Regions from separate parts of the Homo sapiens genome. Here all the other regions are linked to region 6. Evidence: promoter capture Hi-C in 16 types of primary human blood cells and fetal thymus (Javierre and others, 2016). All regions are on one chromosome and are shown on one strand. Each heading gives the region's core, a stretch centred on a gene start or on the middle of the fragment in contact. The rest is flanking DNA. Distances are from core to core; before and after follow the strand shown. Region 1 has its middle 440 kb from the start of LINC01478. Region 2 has its middle 260 kb from the start of MIR4319. Region 3 has its middle 230 kb from the start of SLC14A2-AS1. Region 4 overlaps SLC14A2-AS1 (SLC14A2 antisense RNA 1). Region 5 has its middle 150 kb from the start of SLC14A2-AS1. Region 6 holds the start of SETBP1-DT (SETBP1 divergent transcript). Region 7 has its middle 410 kb from the start of LINC01478.

What was found. Contacts are between HindIII fragments. The CHiCAGO score rates a contact against its expected background, and 5 or more counts as called.
Region 1: a fragment that was not itself captured here is called in contact with the fragment with the promoter of SETBP1-DT in region 6 in 1 of 17 cell types (M2 macrophages); the score reaches 5.3 in M2 macrophages.
Region 2: a fragment that was not itself captured here is called in contact with the fragment with the promoter of SETBP1-DT in region 6 in 3 of 17 cell types (naive B cells, total B cells and monocytes); the score reaches 6.4 in naive B cells.
Region 3: a fragment that was not itself captured here is called in contact with the fragment with the promoter of SETBP1-DT in region 6 in 1 of 17 cell types (total B cells); the score reaches 5.2 in total B cells.
Region 4: a contact is called between a fragment that was not itself captured here and the fragment with the promoter of SETBP1-DT in region 6, in 5 of 17 cell types (megakaryocytes, M0 macrophages, M1 macrophages and 2 more). The highest score is 9.6, in megakaryocytes.
Region 5: a contact is called between a fragment that was not itself captured here and the fragment with the promoter of SETBP1-DT in region 6, in 1 of 17 cell types (total B cells). The highest score is 5.1, in total B cells.
Region 7: a contact is called between a fragment that was not itself captured here and the fragment with the promoter of SETBP1-DT in region 6, in 1 of 17 cell types (M2 macrophages). The highest score is 6.6, in M2 macrophages.

What each region holds. Positions count from the first base shown.
Region 1 is chr18:44,094,096-44,097,409 of GRCh38, forward strand. No RefSeq gene overlaps it. Among named protein-coding and RNA genes, the nearest start is that of LINC01478, 440 kb to the right of the region's middle. The HindIII fragment of the contact is 357 bases long and covers 1,241-1,597 here.
Region 2 is chr18:45,230,695-45,233,680 of GRCh38, forward strand. It overlaps a transcript of SLC14A2 not described here. Among named protein-coding and RNA genes, the nearest start is that of MIR4319, 260 kb to the left of the region's middle. The HindIII fragment of the contact is 3,728 bases long and covers 1-2,986 here.
Region 3 is chr18:45,271,032-45,274,211 of GRCh38, forward strand. It overlaps a transcript of SLC14A2 not described here. Among named protein-coding and RNA genes, the nearest start is that of SLC14A2-AS1, 230 kb to the right of the region's middle. The HindIII fragment of the contact is 2,721 bases long and covers 54-2,774 here.
Region 4 is chr18:45,387,148-45,390,098 of GRCh38, forward strand. The region is part of intron 8 of SLC14A2-AS1 (SLC14A2 antisense RNA 1); the gene reads right to left. It also overlaps a transcript of SLC14A2 not described here. Among named protein-coding and RNA genes, the nearest start is that of SLC14A2-AS1, 120 kb to the right of the region's middle. The HindIII fragment of the contact is 3,962 bases long and covers 1-2,951 here.
Region 5 is chr18:45,349,683-45,352,692 of GRCh38, forward strand. It overlaps a transcript of SLC14A2 not described here. Among named protein-coding and RNA genes, the nearest start is that of SLC14A2-AS1, 150 kb to the right of the region's middle. The HindIII fragment of the contact is 3,527 bases long and covers 1-3,010 here.
Region 6 is chr18:44,678,602-44,681,640 of GRCh38, forward strand. SETBP1-DT (SETBP1 divergent transcript) reads right to left here and starts at 1,271. Exons shown (of 2, transcript NR_187430.2): 1 at 1,015-1,271; 2 at 1-288. It overlaps SETBP1 (SET binding protein 1), which reads left to right and starts at 2,287. Exons shown (of 6, transcript NM_015559.3): 1 at 2,287-2,420. RefSeq lists silencers at 412-1,051, 1,722-1,971, 2,112-2,161. The HindIII fragment of the contact is 7,071 bases long and covers 1-2,086 here.
Region 7 is chr18:44,118,066-44,121,012 of GRCh38, forward strand. No RefSeq gene overlaps it. Among named protein-coding and RNA genes, the nearest start is that of LINC01478, 410 kb to the right of the region's middle. The HindIII fragment of the contact is 5,756 bases long and covers 1-2,947 here.

The sequences.
Region 1 (3,314 bases), core at 169-2,668, 580 kb before region 6:
TTCTTCTATTTATTTGTGTCATCTCTGATTTCTTTCAGCAGTGTTTTAGGGTTCTTCTTGTACAGATCTTTCCCTTACTTACTAACTGGATTCCTAGGTATTTCATTTTCTTTTTGCTGTTGTAAATCAGATTGTGTTCTTGATTTGACTCTCAGCCTGGACATTATTAGTGTATAGAAATGCCACTGACCTGGCCAGGTGTGGTGGCTCACACCTGTAATCCCTGCACTTTGGGAGGCCCAGGTGGGTGGATCACCTGAGGTCAGGAGTTCAAGACCAGCCTGACCAACATGGAGAAACCTCATCTCTACTAAAAATACAAAATTAGCCGGGCGTGGTGGTGCATGCCTGTAATCCCAGCTACTCAGGAGGCTGAGGTAGGAGAATCCTTGAACTCAGAAGGCAGAAGTTGCAGTGAGCCGAGATCACGCCATTGCTCTCCAGCCTGGGCAACAAGAGCGAAACTCTGTCTCAAAAAAAAAAAAAAGAAATGCCACTGACTTTTATACATTCATTTTGTATCCTTAAACTCTACTACAATCATTTATCAGTTCTAGGTGCCTTTTACTGAAGTCTTTAGGATTTTCTAGGTATAGAATCATATTGTCAGTGAAGAGAGATATTTTGACTCTTTAGCTATCTGAATGCCGTTTATTTCTCTCTCTTGCCTGCTTGTAAGGGGAGGTGTCAGCTGGGCTTCCTGGGTCGAGTAGGGGCTCAGAAAGCTGTGAAACTCAGTCATTTCCTGCATCAGGACTTACTTTGGTCCTGGATGAATAATATTGAAGATACATGCTTAAAATATTCCTAACATCAGAATTTGTGCCTGTGTTTTCTTCCCCAAGAAAGCTATAAACAGCGAAAATTTTGTTGTAAGCTTCCCTGTGTCCTCTCTCCCTCTCTCCCTTCCCCCTCCCCTGAAACTAAAAGAAATGTTAAAAGCCTGTTTTTCTGTGACCAGCATACCTTGTCTATGCTCCCAATTCCAATTCCTTGTAAACACAATTTGTGAAATCCTGTGAGATCCTGTCTCCTTTGCCATGCCGCTGCAAGGTCATAAAGTAGATAAAACTTAAGTTACAATTCCGGTTTTCCTCAAGATCTGAGACATGTTAATTGTCTTTGTTTCTTGCTCTGGTAACATCTTCCCGCTGCACGTAGTTCCCTCCTTAAAGAGTTTAAAAGGTGATCAAAAAATCTAACACTGGCTACCCGCTCGGGACCCCTTCCACGCTGTGGAAGCTTTGTACTGTCACTGCTTAATAAAGTCTACAGCCTTTTTTCTCTCGGTCTGATCCGTGTCTCTCTCTCACTGTGGGCTACCGCCACACCAAATCTTTGGCGTGGCTAAGGCAAGAAACTTTAGCGTTACACTTGCTCTGATTAGGACTTCCAGCACTATGCTGACTGAAAGTGGTGACAGTAGTCATCCTTGTCTTTTTCCATTTCTCAAGGGGATTGGTTTCAGCTTTTGCCCATTCAGTATGATGTTGTCTGTAGATTTGTCATATATGGCTTTTATTATGTTGAGGTATTTCCCTTTGATGCCTAGTTCATTAAGTGTTTTTCATATGAAGCGTTATGGAATTTTATTAAAAGCTTTTTCTGCATCTTTTGATATAATCATGTTTTTTGTTTTTATTATGTTTTTGTGGTGAATCACATTTATTGATTTGTGTATGTTGAACCAGCCTTGCATTCTATCAATAAAGCCTACTTGATCATGTTGTATTAACTTTTGATGTGCTCCTAGATCAGTTGTTAGTATTTTGTTGAGCATTTTGGCATCTATGTTCATTAGGGATATTTGCCTGAAGTTTTCTTTTTTCATGTGTATCTGCCAGATTTTAGTATCAGGCTGATACTGGCTTCACAGAATGAGTTAGGGAGAAGCCTCCTTCCTTAATTTCTTGGAAAAGTTTCAGTAGGATTTGTATGACTTCTGCTTTGTATGTCTGACAAAACTCACCTATGAATCCATCTGGTCCAGGATTTTTTGGGTTGGTAGATAATTTATTATTAATTTAACTTCTGAGCTCAATATTGGTCTATTTGAGATTTCAATGTCTTCCTGATGCAATGTTGCAAGGTTGTATTTCCAGGAAATGACACATTTCCTCCAGATTTTCTAATCTGTGTGCATAGAGTTGTTCATTGTATTCTCTGAGGCTCTTTCATATTTCTGTGGGATCAGATGTAATGTCATCTTTGTAATTTCTGACTTTACTTATTTGGATCTTCTTTTTTTTTCTTTGTTAATCTAACTAGTGGTCTATCAATCTTGTTTATTTTTCCAAATGGAGAACTCTTAGTTTCAATGACTCTTTATACTGATTTTTGCATCTCAATTTCATTCAGTTCTTCTCTAAATTTAGTTACTTATTTTCTTCTGCTAGCTTTGGGTTGGCTTCTTTTTTTTTCTAGTTCCTTTACGTGCAAAATTAGATTGTTATTTTGAGATCTTTCTAACTGATTGATGAAGGCATTTAGTGATAGAAACTTTCCTCTTCACGCTGCTTTAGCTGCATCCCAGAGATTTTGGCAAGTTGTGTCTATATTTTCCTTAATTTCAAAGAATTGTTTGATTTCTGCCTTACAGTGTTCACCCATGAGTTATTCAGAAGTAAGTTGTTTAATTTCTATGTATGTGTATAGTTTTGAAACATTTTCTTGATATCAATTTATATTTTTATTGTACTATGGTCTGAGATTATGCTTTGTATGACTTCTATTTTTTTAATTTATTTAGACTTGCTTTATGAGCAAACATGTGGTTGATCTTAGAATATGTTTTATGTATAGATGAAAAGAATGTATATTCTTTGGTTGTTGGGTGGAGATTCTGTGGATGTCCATTATATCCAACTGGTTAAGTGTTAAGTTTAGGTCCAGAATTTGCTAGTTTTCTGCCTCAATGATCCGTTTCATACTGTCAGTGGGGTTTGAAAGCCTCTATTATTGTGTTGCTGTCTAGGTCTTTTCATAAGCCAAGAAGAACTTGGTTTATGAATCTGACTGCTGGGTACATATATATTTAGAATAGTTACGTCCTCATGTTGGATTGGACCATTTAACATTATGTAATGACCTTCTTTGTCTTTCTTAATTTTTATTGATATAAAATCTGTTTTATCTGATGTAAGAATAACGACTCCTGCTCTTTCTTGTTTTTTTTTGTTTGCATTGTAGATCTTTCTCCATCTTTTTACTTTGAGCATGTGGGGTTTGTTACACATGAGATGGGTTTTTTGAAGACAGCAGATGGTTGAGTCTTGTCTTTTTATCCATTCCGTCACTCTATGTCTTTTAAGTGA
Region 2 (2,986 bases), core at 158-2,657, 550 kb after region 6:
GTCCTTGAAGGCAGATCTTCTTTTTCCCCTTAAGTATTCCTTGTAAGGGTTGGCATAAAAATGCTTTTAAGAAATGTTGAACTGAATCCAGTTCTCAGAGTGTCAGGAAAGGAAGACTCCAGGAGAGTTCCAAAGAGCTGGTTGTTGTCTTCTGGAACGTAGTTTCTTAGTATTATTTGTACAAATTATTGGAATGAATAATTATGCTATTTTGAGTTAATACCTCAGGCAGGAAAAATATTTTTTGAGCCCAGGTTTCAATTATGTTAAATCTTTAACAAGAACAACAACAACAAAAGTGTATTGGCAAGAGCGCCAAAGGCTAGGGTGTTTTACATTAGCCTACCAGCCTCCTGGAAATGTCAAGGAATAGAAGGGCATTACTATCCATGCTTTACAGGGTAAGAAATTGACGCACAGAGAAGTTAAGTAACTTGTCCAAAGTCACAGTGGACAACCCAGAGGCAAAAGCTGAAATATTAACATCTTGATACTTTTTTTATTTTTTATTTTTATTTATTTTTTTGAGGTGGAGTCTTGTTGTATCACCCAGGCTAGAGAGTGGTGATGAAATCATAGCTTACTGCAGCCTTGACCTCCTGGGCTCAAGCTATCCTCTTACCTCAGCCTCCTGAGTACCTGAGACTACTAGCATGCATCACCATGCCTGGCTAATTTTTTATTTTTTTGTAGAGACAAGCTCTTGCTGTGTAGTCCAGGCAGGTCTTGAACCCCTGGCCTCAAGCGATCTTCCTGCCTTGGCCTCCCAAATGGGAAGTACTGTGATTACAGGTGTGAGCCACTACACCCCTCCCATTATGGTATCTTGATGATTAAGCTAGTGCTTTCTCACAGCTTGTGACACTAAAAACCCTTCGTTGTCTCCAGTCAGGATACTCTGACCATTCCTTTCTCATCATTAAACACTCAAATTATGCCCAATTCATTGTCTTCATGCCATCCATTACATAGTCCTTTAATATGGCCATATGCAAATGGCATGATCAATAATAGTGCTGGCAAGTGAGGGGCATGTTTGGAGAATGACACACACTTCAGTTATGCTATGCTATGGGGTGCGTATGAGGAATTTGGTAGTTCATTCAGTGAGTAGTTACTGAGCATCTGTAAGTGTTATGAGTTCCCCTGCTGTCCTTATGGAGTGTTTATAGTGTGGTGATGAAAGCAATTCTTCAAATAAATAAGTATGTGTGTGAAAAGTGTTAACAAAGAAGAAACACAGGCTGCTCTGGGAAGAAGCAACTGATGAAGCTGGAAGACTTTCATATGATGCCTTGAGAACCAAGCTAAAGGATTTCAACTAAGAGTCCATTGCAATAGTAAAAAAAAAAAACAAAATGATGAGTGAATGAACCAGAGTTGAAGCTATGGGAGCAGAAAGGGAAGTGTATTGTTTATTCTCACACTGCTAGCAAGAACTACCCGAGACTGGGCCATTTATGAGAAGAGAGGTTTAATTGACTCAGAGTTCCACAGGCTGTACAGGAAGCATGGCTGTGAGGCATCAGGAAACTTACAATTATGGTGGAAGGTAAAGGGGAAGCAAGCACATCTTATGTGGCAGATCAGGAGAGAGAGAGTGAAGGGAGAAGTGCCACACACTTTCAGCCAGTCAGATCTTATGAGAACTCACTATCATGAGAACAATGAAGAGGAAGTCCATCCCCATGATCCAGTCTCCTCCCACCAGGTCCCGCCCCCAACATTGGGAATTACAATTCAACATGGGATTTCAGTGGGGACACAGAGACAAGCCATATCAGGAAGAATCAACTAGGTGAAAATAGTAACTTGTCTATACCCATTGTTCTAATTCTCTGGCATTCTAGTGATCATTTAGACATATGGAAGAATTAACCAACTTGGTTCCAACTTTGAAGATTCATTTGTCAAACCAGGGTACAGGAGGCTGTCACCATAGACAATCTGTTTGTGAACCAACTCAAGAGACTGTATATAAATACATTTTGGATTGTTACTTTTAATAAATCTGTCATAAGTTCAGCTTAATTGGTTAAGTCACAAGGGCTTTAAGAGCTCCTCCTGTGTAGCCAGCTCAAGGCTGGATGTCATGGGAGATGCTATTAAGCAGCTTATAGGCCCATTTTGAGGCACATTCGTGAAACCACAAAAGGGTAATGTGACTAAAAACTTAGAATCAAGTTCCAACCTGTGTGTAACTGGCTACCGGTGCTGTGTTGGTTCAGGTGGGCCATGAGACGAGAAGGTATAGGTTGACTTCTTGCACCCCAATTTTTCTCTAACTTAATTGTCTGTAGGAGATTTTTACCACTTGAATCTCATTCCTTTTGGGTGAAACAATTTCCCCCTCTTGCAGTTGTCTTTGAACCTGAGAGAAGTGTTAGATTCCTTTAGTTTCACTCTAGGTAACAACTTTCTAACATTGTGAATGGTTCAACAATGGAATCCACATATCGGAGTGGTAGTGAGTTCCTGTTGCTGGAGAGGCTCACACAGAACCTGAGTGAACATCTTCCTGCAACACTGAAGAAGGGATTCCTGTGTTGTTTAGGAGATTTCACAAGTTGACCTCTTAAGGTCAGCATTCTCCTGATCTGTGCTCACATAACTAACAAAAATGTATTGTTGAAATGTTACTTGTTCAAGATAAACTATCCCCTCCCCAAAATCAGCTCTGGTTATACAAATTATGTGACTCTTTGACCCTGATGAATGTGTTGTCTTTTTCTCTTGATATGGGTGAAAGTGTATCACAGGAGTATTGGACACCTAGAAGCACTGGAAGAAACCAAACAAAAAAGTCCCCTATTTCATGGTCTTGCCCGGGCTCCCTCCTGCGTATCACGAAAATGTTTAGGCAGAAAAAGTAATCTCTGTGGCTCTGAACAAAAAGTTAAGTTGCGATTGGACAAGTGCTTAACATCCTCATTAAATTCCTAGTTTCCTTGGGCTTGCTGGGCTGATCTTTCTAAGTGTCTCTTAG
Region 3 (3,180 bases), core at 164-2,663, 590 kb after region 6:
ACAATTCTGCAGCAACTTCCCTTCTCTGCTTCCCACACACTTGCTTCCCCTGAAGCTTAGATGGTGGATCCCACTTTCAGATAAAGAACATTGGTGATGCATCCACTTGAAAATCAAGTGACATTTGCAGAGCCTAACCAAGTTAGAAGAACAAAGGAAAAAGTAATTCTTATCTGAGCAAGTAATGCTTGTCAGCTCTTCCCCAAAGGAAATGCCCTCTGTTGTGTAGACATCTTAGTGGCTGGGCCAGTCCAGTTTTAGTTCTTTCTAGCAATGGTTATTTTTTCCTTTTCCCTTGGGAGGTGATTCTAGGAGCTAAAAGATCATGTTAGCACAGATTGTAGAAAAATCAGGAAATTTATGACTTGAATGGAAATACAGACTGATGATTAACTGTAATTCATGACATTATGCAAAAGAAGATAGCAGCTGGAAAGCAACTTTAAAAGTATCAGCAAAACATGCAATGATAAAATGCTACCTACAGTGAACAATCTGAAACACAAATCAAAAAGTAATCCCTTTTACAATAGCCACAAATTGAATACCTAGAAATTAAAAAGAAGTGAAAGAATTCTATAATGAAAACTATAAAACACTGATGAAAGAAATTGAAAAGAACACCAAAAAATGGAGAAATATTCTATGTTCATGGATTGGAAGAATCAATATTGTTAAAATGTCCTTACTACCCAAAGCAATCTACAGATTCAATGCAATCCCTATCAAAATATCAATGACATTCTTCACAGAAATAGAAAAAAAATCCTAAAATTTATATCGAACCGCAAAAGACCCAGAATAGCCAAAGCTGTCTTAAGCAAAAAGAACAAAACTGGAGGAACCACATTGCCTGACTTCAAATTATACTACAGAGCTATAGTATCCAGAACAGCATGGTACTGGCATAAAAATAGGCACATAAACTAATGGAACAGAATAGAGAACCCAGAAACAAATCCATACATGTATAGTAAACTCATCTTTGACAAGGATACCAAAAACATACACTAGGGAAAAGAGAGTCTTTTCAATAAGTGGTGCTGGGAAAACTGAATAGCCATATGCTGATAAGGATGTGGAGAAAAGGGAATCCTTTTACACTCTTGGTGGGAATGTAAATTAGTACAACCACTATGAAGAATAGTTTGGAGGTTCCTCAAAAAACTGAAAATTCAGCTACCATATCATCCAGCAATCCCACTGCTGGGTATATATCCAAAAGAAAGGAAATCATCATATTGAAGAGATGTCTGTACTCCTGTTTGTTGCAGCACTGTTTACAATAGCCAAGATTTGAAAGCAACCTAAGTGTCCATCAACAGATGAATGGATAAAGAAAATATGGTACATCAACATGGATGGAACTGGAGATCAATATATTCCATCCATGTTGTTGCAAATGTTGCAACAACATTTTACTATGTTAAGTGAAATAAGCCAGACACAGAAAGAGAAACATCACATGTTCTCACTTATTTGTGGGATCTAAAATTCAAATCAATTGATTTTTAGTAGTAGTACCCTTCTAGTTTCGTGGACATAGAAAGTAAAATGATGATTACCAGAGGCTGGGAAGGGTAATGGGAGGTTGAGGGGTAGATGAGGATGGTTAATGGGTACAAAAAATAGAATGAATGAATAAGACCTACTATTTGGAAGCACAATAGGGTGACTTTAGTCAATAATAACTTAGTTGTATATTTTAAAGTAACTTAAAGAATATAATTGGGTTGTTTGTAAATCAAAGGATAAATGCTTGAGGGGATGGATACCCCATTCTCCTTGTTGTGCTTATTTCACATTGCATGCCTGTATCAAAATATCTCATGTACCCCACAAATATATGCACCTACTGTGCACACACAAAAATTTTTTTAAAATAAAAGCTACCTAAGCCAGCAACTGAATCCCTTATAGGGAGCCTAGTCATTAAGTAAACCCTACACTGCTATATCCATCAGGAATCGTGCAATTGCAAATATCGGAATAATGGACTTGACTGACTTAAACTAAAGCATGATTTTTTTTCACTCATCTATCTGAAATGTCTAAGAGTTTCAAGCTCAGATGGATCGAGGTGTCCCGATATCATCAGATCGGGGTTTTTGCTCTATTACTCGACTCTCGCTTTGCTATGTACTGGTTTTATTTTCAGTGGTTTTATCCATTGAAGAAGTAAAATGACCATCCAACAGTTCCAAGATTACATCCTCATAGCTGTAAGCTCAGCAGTAAAGAGAGAATAATTTTCTCAAAATAGTCCCAGAAGTCTTGTAACTGCCTTGTTGGCTCTGATTGGGTCACATTCTCATCCCTGAACCATTCACTGTAGACAGGAAAATGGGATGCTATGATTGGTTAGGCTTGAGTTATCTTCTCTGGAGGTAAAATCAAGATAACGTTCAAACCATAGAGCCTTTAAATGGGTAGGTAAGAATTTCCCAGGAGAAAAGCGTTGTCCTACAGATGAAGAGGGAACAGGTAGTGTGCAATACAACCATCAAATACTTCTACACTCTAGACTTGACTTTTTTCTGATAATGTGTGTGTATTTGTGGAAAGGAGTGGCCAAGAGGAGAAGGAGGAAGCACAAACAGGTGAGCAGAGTAATTGGGTGTGCAAATGAAGTCCAATAGTCTTTTTAAAAAAGCATTAACCAGGAGCTAGGAGGCAAGATGTAGGCCAACAGCTTGAAAAACAAGCTGAATCCAATGTGTTAGCACAGATTGTACTTTGGGTGACACAAAATTCTCTTCTCGTTTGGAAATTAAAGCTTAACTGTGACATCTGCAAGGCATTTTTTCTTCTCTGGACTCTGTGTGAGCATCTATAGAACAGTATTGAAGGGTGAAGAAAATTTAGATCAACTGAATACTAAGATTCCATTATGCTGTAAATGTGTTATATTTAACATTTAATGCATTTTATTTAATTTGAGTTTTAATTCTAAGACAGAACTAATGAGAATTAGGTGCAAGAAAAAATGCAATACAATGCACACTGCTTCCTCATATCTTTGATTCCATCTATGTGATAACAGGCTTACCAGGAATCCCTTGTATTGGTGATAGCACAACCTAACTTGACCAACAATGACACCCACAACTCTGAGATCTTCTGTTAGTGTGTGGGGGTAGGGGAGGCCAAAGTACATGAATCAGCTGTGATTTGGCTGGG
Region 4 (2,951 bases), core at 23-2,522, 710 kb after region 6:
TGTATCTCCCTTACAACTTCTGTATGTTACAACCATGTATGGCCATCTCTTTTTTCTGTCTTAAAAGGGTATGCTACTTATATCAGTCAAAATAGGCAAGGTTCTGCTACAGCGTCAAGCAACCCCGTATTTCAAAGTATTAAACCCATAGCTTGCCACAACTCCTCAGCCAGAATTAATTCTATGCCCTGCCCCCCAAACAAGGAGGCAGAAAATGTAACCCTCCCACATCACCATGTCACTCCCACAAGTAAGGAGAAACAGATATTTATGAGAATGACTGATGGTTACCACACCCTGGAAAGCAAGGGCAGTCTCTAATTCTAAGTCTCCCTAGCAGTGTGCTTCATAGGCAGTAAATGCACACTATAAATCTTTGGTGAATAACTGATAGGATATATTAGTTCACAATTATGTTATCTCTCTCAATCAATATCATATTTTGAAATACATATCCAGATCAAAAATTTCTTAATGACTGCTAGTAGAAATTTCAGGTATCCTCAGGGCAAGTCAGAAGGGATGGCTTTGGGGACAGGGTCGAACTTTATTTCTCTCATGTCCACATCATGTCTCTTCGAATGTAGAAAGTTGTATGAGCTATTATGACAATCAACTGAGAAGGATTATTTGCCTTCAGGAAACTGATTCACACACTAAACAGCATTTACACATGAAACAGCTGGAAGAAAATTGAGGCTATTTGTCAAAAATGCATGAAAGCCGGTATAGGCTTTGTCCATAGGGCAGACTGAAAAGTGGGGGAATCTCTCATGAGGTCAGGTTATGTGCAAAGAGGTCATTTTTGAGGTCAGGTTATGTGCAAAGGAGGTCATTATTTAAAGGCTGTATACAGCTTGGGAAGGCTCAAAGGAGGATGAAGTCCTGGATTGCCCTAAGCTCACCTTGCTCATATCTTTTTTTTTTTTTTTTTTTTTTTTTTTTTTGAGACGGAGTCTCACTGTGTGCCCAGGCTGGAGTGCAGTGGCGAGATCTCGGCTCACTGCAAGCTCCGCCTCCTGGGTTCACGCCATTCTCCTGCCTCAGCCTCCCTACAGGTGCCTGCCAACACGCCCGGCTAATTTTTTGTATTTTTAGTAGAGATGGGGTCTCACCATGTTAGCCAGGTTAGTCTCGATCTCCTGACCTCGTGATCCACCTGCCTTGGCCTCCCAAAGTGCTGGGATTACAGGCATGAGCCACCGCGCCCGGCTGCTCATATCTTAAATAAACCAGGCACCTGAAATGAAGTCTTGCTTTACTGTGGCTGGAAAACAATTTCACTCCTCAGCTCTTGACAGCAAGAGCTCTTATAATAAAAGACAGGGCATAGGCTGGTTGGATAGCATCTTCCATTCCTAGATACCCTTCCTGGTATCTAGGGCTATTTTTCGTCTGTTCTCTTCAGTGCCCCAAGATTGCGAATACCTGGGGTTGAAGATTTTTATATATTGAGATGCTGAATCTCTAATCCTTTCTCTCTGCCACCCGCCCTTATATTCCCCAAGAGAACACTTAAGAATAGGAATTCCACTCCATGTTTCTCATCCCAGATACCAACTAGACAGAAGGGCATATTGGCACTTGCATGAAGAAGAGGTACAAACTCTTCACAAGCTCCTCAATGTGACCTATGAAGACAGGAGGTCGCTGAAGGCCACAGGTGCACACAAATACGCATTTGTGAGTGATAGGATGATAAAGCAAAGGAATTATGCTTCCAAATGTGGATTGGCTTCTTCAAAGAAGGCACATTGATGGGCTAGCATCTAGTGAAGATTTTAAAATATTGAATAAATAAGGGAAAATAGAAGTTAAATATTCATATATAAATATGTGCATAAAAATAGAGACAGTAATCTGGCATGGATGAGAATTTGCATTAACCCTTTGAGAGGCAAAACCTTTTGATTTCAAATCATTTTGATGTAAATTTTCATAAAATGTATGACACCTGTGCAAGCCCTGGTATGTAGAGAAAACTGACCATTTTGAGATTATGTGCTGGTGATAAAAAGCACCTTTCTGACCAGCTATTGGGCTGGCTATGGAAGCTCACAGCTTGAGTGATGGGATGGAACATGTGCTAATTGCAAGACAAGTTTGCGACTTGTTTTCCTGACTAAATTTGCTTATTGGTTTGATGCTCTATAATTTCTCTATCTCATAAATATGGACTACAGAATCCATCTACATCATTTTTGGAGCCAAGTAACATAGCTCTCTCTCTCCAAAAGTAATGGTCAATCCAGTGGTCAAATGAGGCTTTTCCAAAAGGATTGTCTCATTATTCATCAAGTCATACTATTTTCTCATAATCAAGAGCTGACCATTCTTGCAGTATAAAAAGCATTATTCTTATAGTTACTTCAGGATCCCAAATCAACTTCAACCAGCCTTCTTTCTTTCTTGGATTAAGTTAATAGGTTAAAAAGTGTGACATTTTAGGAATTTTCTACCAAAGGTTCTTAAAGAGTTGTTCAACTAAAGAGCTAAAAGGTGCTTTATATTTGAGAATATTTGCTTACAGGTGCCAGAGGCAATATAGGCTTAGGCAAAATAAGAAAATAGTTAAAGTCTGACATGAACTTGATGGGTCTCTCTACCCTATTTCTCTCCTCTTGTCCCACACTCACCCCCACTCCAAAATATCTGTGAATTAAATCCCACACCCACTGTAAGGAGTAAAAACGTTGACCCTGAAAAAAGATCTTTGCATTTTGATGGATATCCAAACTTTAATCTTCGAGAATGTAACTGTAGCACGTAAAAGTCCCATTGGGATATCTCTGTACCTTCCTCCTTCCTCTCAATTTTGCTAGAATGAAACCTAAAACTGCTCCAAATAAATAAAATGAAAAGTGAACCTAAAACTGCCCTAAAAATATAAAGTTAAAATCTCGTTGGTATTTGGGGGAGAATTTGAGAGGCTGAAAAGGCTTTGCCATAGG
Region 5 (3,010 bases), core at 40-2,539, 670 kb after region 6:
CTCCTCTCCTGGGCATTTCCCCAAATGTTTCCCTGGAATCATCCAAGGTGTTGTCATCTCCAGATTATAAAAAATTAAAAGGCAAGAAGTGGAACGTAGATGAAGATTAAGAGAACTAACTAGGCATAACTTAGCTAAATGAAAATGCCAGGGAACCTGAAAGCCATCTCCAAGGTTTTTACATGCTTAGGTAATTTGGCAAAAGGCAATGTCTAAATGCATCAATGGCAGGAAACATTGACTACTTCAAGAAGCATAAGAAATCAGAAGTAGTCAAAATAATCAATATTATCAACTTTTTATTGAGCTTCTACTATTTCTCCAACCCCAGGCTTGGCACCAAAGAGGATTTAAGACAAAAGCAAAATAATTACTGCACTCACTGTTTGGGTCAACAAAGACAAAACACAGACCCTTGAGCATGGTCCAGTGAGTGAGACTGACAGCTTGCTAAAAGAGTTCAGGGCAGGGAGCATTTCCTATGACTGAAGGTAGCCAGAAAGCCAGAGAAACGTGCGAGAAACAGATTTAGAGTGTTTTCACCAAAGTGAATAAATGTCGTTAAAAACCATTCTGGATAAAACCTCAGAATCACAATGCATTACTAACATACACTAAACAGTCACCATTTTTGATATCTCTGATTCCTGAGAACACCCCCATGGCTCAGATACAGTTGATTATAAAACAAACACACTCATAGCTCAAGGTCACAGGGACAGCACGTTCATCACAGTGAGGGAAATTCCTTGGGAAGAGGCCGCAGTTCAGTCTCCTGATGGCAGGACCAGCACAGCTCTGCATGCTGGATAATTAGGAGGCTCAGTTTAATTCCAAATATCTGGGCAACAATCAATAGTGAGAGCATGAGGGGTGTGTGGCTGGACTAGTTTATGTGACGGGTCACACATTAGGTACCTAATTGATGTGGCTTCTCGGGATGCGGTAATGCCGCTGACGCACACCACTTTCCTATTACTAGGCTTAATGGTTCATCTTTTGATTTCTGCCTCACTCCCAGCACAGTGTTATTTAAATAAGACCCTATTAGGGATTTATTTATCACAAGGAAAAGATTTATCCAGGAAAAAAAAAAAAGCTCCCTGAGACACAGCAGTTCCGCTTATAGAAGCACCATAATAAAGAAGACAATAGCAATATTTTTACTGTTTAGGTCGATACAATTATAGGATGAGAGAAGGCAAGAAGCAAAAAATATAAATTTCACACTCAGTGACCTAGTAATTTGTCAGTCATTTTCTGCATTAAACCTAATGCATCCTCTGGGACTGGGGCAGAGGATACCAGAGAAATCTCAGCACTCCTGGCCTGACGTTCCTAACTCCACACCGTCTCTCCCTTTCTTCTTTCTTCTTGATCATTTTCTCTATGTGTGTAATTGTCTTTGTCTTCTCAGTTCCTGTGCTTTCTGATGATGGTGTTCTTTAGTCTTTTATTCTGGTACCAATTGCTGGAAACATAATCACCTATTTGTATTTCATTATTGAAGGAAAGGGACCTTATATGAGGTGGTAGAAAAATCTTGACCCTGATCAGTTTAACTTTATCACCATGGCAGAAGAAGAAAATCCTATCCTTCCTGGGTCTCCAACCCAAATAGCCTCATTTTTTTCCCATGCAAGCCCTTTTCTATTCCACTTATGCACCGTTTTTTGTTTGTTTGTTTTGAAACAGAGTCTCTCTTTCTGTTGCTCCAACTGGTGTTCAGTGGTGTGATCCTGGCTCACTACAGCCTTGACCTTCTAGGCTCAAGCAACCCTCCTGCCTGAGCCCCCCAAGTAGCTGGGACTACAGGCATGTACCACCACACCCAGCTAATTTTGTTCATTTTTTTAAAGACAAGGTCTCACTATGTTGCCCAGGCTGGTCTTGAACTCCTGGACTCAAGTGATCCTCCCACCTGAGCCTCCCAAAAATGCTGGTATTACAGGCGTGAGCCACCATGCCCAGCCTACTTATGTACGCTCAGTACCTACAGTATACTATATTTCCAGCCAATTACTGGGTTTGAAAAGTATAGTAAAGAGGCAGAAGGGAAATGTTTCCCTCTGAGAGCTTACAACCTACATGGAGAGATGAGACAGACATGAAACAGAGGACTACAAATCACATCACAGAGTTTTAGTATGGGGCTGGAGAGGCAAGAAAGGGAGCAGGTGGAACACTTGGATTCAAATATCAGAAGGACTGTAATGGGAAAGGAGTAGATAAACAGGAGAGCTTTGGGAACACAAATGGGCTCAAGTCATAGGACCATCAGGGAGACAGATATTAGGTCAATGTAAAGAAAACGTCTCAGTCCATGAAAAAGAGTCATCTGACAACAGCAGGTGATGTATATGAGGAAGTCGTGGACAGGGCTGTGGTGGGGGCTTGCTGCACTGGACAGGGCATGGGACTGTGGCGCCTTCAAACCTCAGGTTCTTGATGTGTTTTAGGAATCTGTAGAAGGTGCACATTCATGAGGTCTTCAGTCACCAGGAAATACTTCAAAGAAAAGGCAAACACTGAGTTGAGTCCTGTGTAAATTTTCAGAGAGACCATGGAGAAGGGGCTTCTGGAAAGGGAATGACACACACACAACCTGTACCCCTGTACCCCACCCCATACCCATTCTTTCTTATGATTCTCCATCCAGAGGGCAAGTTTTCCTCTTTTAGGTAGAGACGAATTGTTCATGACATAGTCATTTATCCCCCAAAGAGGAGGAAGAGGCACATAAGTAGACTAAACTTTAAAATTTGATACCTTTATTTATTTATTTTCTCTTCTGTCTTCCCATTCTTCCTATTCTATCTTTCAAAATGACTTACTGAGGCCCTAGGCACTCGGGCTAGATTCCACAGATAGAATGATGTGTAAGGGCAGATTTGATCCTTGCCCCTGTAGAGCTTACAACCCATCGAGAGAGACAGACATTAGCCAAATACTGTCACAAATAAATGTTTACAAGTGACACCAAAGGAAAATAAAAGAAGTGGTAAGAACA
Region 6 (3,039 bases), core at 21-2,520:
CAACTTTACCCCAAGTTCTTTGAGCGGAACCATTTGCAGACCTTCCCGAATCCGTATCTATCCTATATTGTTTTACAATGTAGACATGTCTCTGAAGGGTTCCATTCGTGTTTCCCTGAAAAGACCCCCTTTGTAGGCCAAATACAAAAACTCAGAGATTACAAATGCCACCATATTTTGTAAGAACTGAAGACATTCCACTTTGTTCTTCCCACCCTGAAAACAACTGCATGCCAGTCTGCGTTTGTCATCTCTCCGTGTCCTTCCCTTCATCAAGTGTCCAATTCTCTTGAATAACGAGAAAATGCACATGAGATCTGAATGCATACAAGTCGCTTAACAACAACAATAAAATAATAATAATAATTTAAAAAAACCCTGAAAGTGAAATATAATTACCAGGTTAAAAAAAAAATGCGCCCAGTTTCGAGAGCCTATCACAGCTCACGTCTGGGCGCGCAGTACCCCCCCGACACTGCTCCTGTTGTGTCAGATAGTGGCAGTGTTGAGCCCAGGAATACGCGCGGAGCCCGCGGCGATCCCCGCGGCCGCTCAGTCTTCGCGGCGGACTCCGGCGCGCAGGAGCCACTGGGCCGCAAGGGCGCCGGGGAGCGGGAGGGGCGCTGGGGGCGGCAAGGGGTCCCAGATCCCAGGCCACGAACTGTTTTCCTTTTCCCCGGGCAAGAGCCCCGCTCCCTTCAACTGACAGAAATTCACTGGGGCAGGGGGGCGAGTGGGGAGAGAGGTCGCTCAGGGCTCGCTACTGGCTGCGCCTCCCCCGGCTCTGGTCTGGGAAGCGGCTCTGGGCCCTCCGGGCGAGCAGCTTGGGCGCCGGCGCCCCCTGCGAGGAAGATCGCGGGGTGACGGTCGGTACCCGTTCGGCTGGGCCGCGCTGCCGCTCCGATCCACCTCCCTTCCGCGCCCGCGCCCTCCCCCTTCCTTTCACTAGGAGTCCGGGATTCGGAGAGGGCGCGGGAGGCAGGCACACGGGCCCGACCCCACTCCAGCGCTCACCGGGGACGCGGGCGGGCGGCGACGGGACGCGGCGGGGGCGCGGGGCGGGCGCGGCCATGGAGCAGCAGCGGCGGCGGCGGCGGCGGCGGCGGCAACACTAGCGACCGCGGGCGGACGAGCGGGCGGGCAGGGCCGCCGGGCTCAGCGGACCGAACTGCACAGCTCAGCAAAAGCGCCCTCGCCCTCCGCGCGCCGCCTCCTGCGAGCCCAAACCCACCAACATTTTTTAACGCTCCAACCCATCCTTTGAAGAAAAGCAAAAAAAAAAAAAAAAAAAAAAAAAAAAGCAAAAAAAGAAAAAGCATTGATCGGAGAGACGGGGATATATATATATATATATATATATATATATATATAAAATTTTTTTTGGCTCCTGCTAAAATTAGCAGGGCTCGCCGCGCGCCTGTGTGCCAGTGTGTGCGAGTGTGTGTGCGTGCGGGCGTGTGTGTGTGAATGTGATTACTCCAGGACTCCTCGGGCTCCGGAGACGCCATTTTCCCCCTTGATATCTCTCTCCATAAATCGGTGGCGCGGCGGAGGCGGCAGAGTCGGGCGGGAAGCGCGGGGCCGGCCGGGGCGCCCGCCGCTCGCCGCCGCCTCCGCGCGCCCGGGGGCCCCGGCGCCCCCCGAGCTAGGGCGGCCAGCTCGCGGCTCGCCGTTTGACAGATGCTCATCGCCATGGAGTTGCCGCAGCAGCACCTTTGGGGGCTCGGGCGAGCGACGGGAGCCGGGATCTGAGCGAGCGCCGGGGCCAGCGGAGCCGGAGCCGCCGGGACATGGGTGAGCACGCGCGGCGACCTTGGCCCGGGAGCCCGGGCGCCCAGCCTCCCTCCGCGCCGCGGGCCCCCGCACTCCCGGAACCGGGGGCGACGTGTGTGCCCTGCATGCAAAAGTTCACGTCGCCTTGCTGGGTCTTTGACTTTGCACCCGGCGGGAAGGGGGAGACCGGGCCGAGGGGGCGGGATGCCGGTCCGGGCGAGGTTGCAGGAGATGGGCGCGATTCCGGCGGGCCGGCGGGTGGGCGGCGATGCTGGCTCAATTGGAGTGGCTCGTTGGTGGCGGCGATGGTGGAAGCTTTGGGCTGGAGGGCTGGGAGCTTATTGAGTTTCGCCTAATCTGATCTACCCCCCCTCCGCCCCCCGCCTTTTGCACCCTCCCTCGGTCCTGCAGCCGGCTGGCGGGGCTGGCGGGTTTGGCGTTGGTGGAGTGGACTCGGGAGGGGGAGGGGGTAAGGAAAGGGGTGGGAAGGCAGGATTTTTTTTTTCTCTCTTTGTAACTTGCAGGTTAAGTGGAGCTAGAGAGCTACATTGTAACCTAGTTGGATTTTTTTGGGGGGGGAATGTATCAGAATCTAACGTGTCGTTAATAGAAAGAAGAACAGGCAAGAAGTGGTCCAGCCGGCGAAGGTTGGTGTGTGCTTGTGTTGTGCCTGTGTGTTAGTCTTTTTCTTAAAAATCTTAATCAATGGATTTGAGTCTCTTTCTTGTGCTCTCTGGTTTTGGGACTCTGAAAAGATAGGAATTCCCTTAAAAGCAGACGAATGCCTTTTTGAAAGCACGCATTGTGTGCGTTTCTAGAGGAGCCGTGGGCTTGGGAATGAACGGCAGGCTTCCCCGTTCGGTGGTTTCCAGTGGGAAATCACTCCGGAAAGGGAACCCTTCGGTATCGATTTATTGTTTTTGTCTTCCAAACCATTATCTCTTTGACCGAAATACTGTCTGAGAAGTTCCGCAGGGACAAAGTCAGGTAAACTGGACCGGGCAGATCTTTGGCAAGATGGTGATAACGGGGATGCTGTTTTCAGTGTCTGTTTGTGATGGAAGCATTGTTGGGTAATAGCAATTTCTGATCGGTAGAGCATGCTGGTTCTAAAAAAATAAGTTAACTGCCGAAATACTGTCTTCCAGCCCCCCTCCCCTGCACAGTACAGCACCTATTCCCCCCGCCCCCCCATCCAGACCGCTTACTACAAGTCTGAAATCGGATCCAACTGGAAATATTTTCATTGGAGATTGAAAGTTGTGC
Region 7 (2,947 bases), core at 51-2,550, 560 kb before region 6:
GGACCTGCCACTGGGCCTGGGTTGGGGGGGTTGCTTTCTTGGTTAATAATGCTTTGTTTCAATTATAAACACCCTAATAATTATCATGGCAACATGCTGTATGTACACAGAAAAACTTAAAAAGTTTTTTTTGAAATGGGTCTCATTATGTTGTCCAGAGAGTCCTTGAACATTTGGGTTCCAGCAATCCTCCTGTCTCAGCCTCCCAACTAGCTAGAACTACAGGTGCACATCACCATGCCCAGCTACAAAAACTTTTAGCTCTCCCAGTAATCAAAATGTAAGGTACTATTTCTCTTACTTTTATATATGTTGGACTTGGTTTTGAAATCTTGTTTTATTTCAATATCATAAATTAACTCATAAAAGTATTGTGGATAATTTTCTCCCAGAGAATTGTTTAGACCCTTCATTTTGAGAACATAATGGGTATGCAAAAAATGAAAAAAGACAACGTATTCATCATCTGTGAATAAAAGCCAAGTGCCCTCTGAAAAGAAAGGACAAATAAATTATTAAACAAATAGCTCGTTTTTAGCAGCAAAATTAACCTAATATTTTATGGTTTTCAAGGAAATACATACTGATAAAGAGCATTGAGGAAAAAAATGTCTCCAGCATCCAACTTTCTAACGAGAGATGCATGTGTTTATCATTCTTCTCCTATGTCCACTGCCTGAGGCAGTGGAAGGATGTTTTTGCTCTCCTTTTGCCTTATCTCTCCCAGTGTAATAACCCCATCCTAAATAGGCTTCAATGCCCACTGCAATGAATACAAATATGCTTGCTAGATTTGGACTGTAAAACTAGTTTCCCCTACTCTCTGTGCCTCAGTGGAATATATATTAAATGAAGCTATTCCATAAAACATCATCTTATAATAGTAGGTAAGTAGGCTGCTCTGTTTATGGAGTAGCCATTCTTTTATTTCTTTACTTTCTTAATTAACTTGCTGTCACTTTAAAAAAAAAAAAAAAGAAAAAAAAAATAGCCTGAACTTTAGCCATCTTCCAAGTACTAATGAAATGTTCCTGTCTCTAATGTTTAAATAGACTAATGAAGGGCAGTTTTGCCATAGAGGTTAGCTCGATTTTTAATGTATGAGATCTGGGGAACACCTACTTCTAAATAGCTGAACTAAAGCAAGGACTTATTTATAATTCTGAAATCATAATTTTTTTCTTTATTTCTGTAAACTCTTGGTTATTTAATCATCAACTGTTTCAGATGTACTACAGCACCCAAGAATAGAAAGGGAGTGAGAGAGAGAGGTCCCAGACAAAGGAAGAGATACCTTTGTCTTCGTTACAGAACGTGTAACCCCTAATCCTGTAAATTTAGTCTTTCTAAGGATTTTTTGAATTTTATCCTAGCCCCACCATCCATTTATTTATTTGAAATATATATATTGAATGTTCTCAAAATATAATCCAATGCACCATTCCTTGGGAATACATCATTAAAAGGACAAATATAATCTGCCTAAAGGTATTTACATTCTGGGAAGTAACAAATGTTACAACCAGAAATCATTACCTAATTATTTTACGGTTGCTCTGTAATAAAAAGTAATATAGGTGCAATAAAAGTATATAATATAGAGTCAAGAACCAAGCATGGGAATATTTGCTTGAAGAATTAGAGTTGGAAATGAGCTGTGAAAGATGTATACCAAAATAAGGAGTGTGACACTCAAAGGAAATAGCATTGCACAGACTCTAAGATACAGAAAAACATAGACATACTCCAAGAATTGAAAGAATGTCAATGTGGCAGAAACAATAAAGCAAGGAATAAAGAGCTAGAACTGACTCTCTAAAGTGGACAGCAGACATATTCTGCATGTGTTCTAAATATTTATTCTTACAGTGATAAAAGGCATCGAAGAACTTTAAACAAGGCAATGACATAATCATAATTTCTTATATTTCCTTTAAAATATCATTCTTAATTACCATGTGAGTAACAGACTAGAGAGTGACGATTAGGATCCAGTAAGAAGTGCTAAGACTTGAGAGAGAATGATCATTTATTCCATGAGGATAGCAAGGAAATTGATAAAAGTGGATAAATTTGAGCGATATTTAGAAACATGTTTTGTGGCTAAAGAAGAATGAAGGAGAAATAAAAGTCAAGACGAATGTTAGTCTCTAGGACTATAATCCCTAAATATTTTTGGAAAAGAGTGAGTCTTCAAATCCTTGTAAATTGCACCGGTAGAGGAAGACACATGCCTAGAAGGAAATTAGTTGATTCAGGTAGGGGTACAAGGGTTAGAAAATATAGCGAAGGATATGTGGGTAAATTTGTGGGGAACCTTTGGTTGACTTTGGCCACAACCTCCTTTGGGTCAATGCCAGAGAATGAGACTGTAGCAATACTGGAGTCAGAGAATACATATGTAGATACATACATACATTTACACACACACAACATTGCTTGGATATTCCCTCCATAGTCTTGATCACAATGCAGAAGTAATTTTGGCTTGCTAAGTCTATCGATCCAACACTATTGAAAAAAAATATGCTACTATATGCTGCCATATCACAAGAAAATGAAATGCAATCAGATATATCCATAGAGATGGTTATATCATAATGATGGCAGAAGGAATAGTGGAAGATTTTCTAAGTAAACTATGTAGTATAGACTCTCTCTTTTGGCATCTTTGAAAGGAGAGAAAAACACTGTTCACAAATATAGATAGGAACTTTACATGGCCTTTATTTAAATCACAGTGGAAATTTTGAAGTGTAAATTGATGGTTAAGATTTCCTGTCTGTGCCTTAACATTTTCTCAATATCCTAACCCTACCTCGTACTTCCTATTTCCTCCCAACACTCACCCCAATTGGCACATTAAGCCACAGAAACCTTACAAAACAACACTGTAGTCGCATTTCTCTAGAATTCATCATTTTCCCTCCCAGTGCTGCAGTGCTGG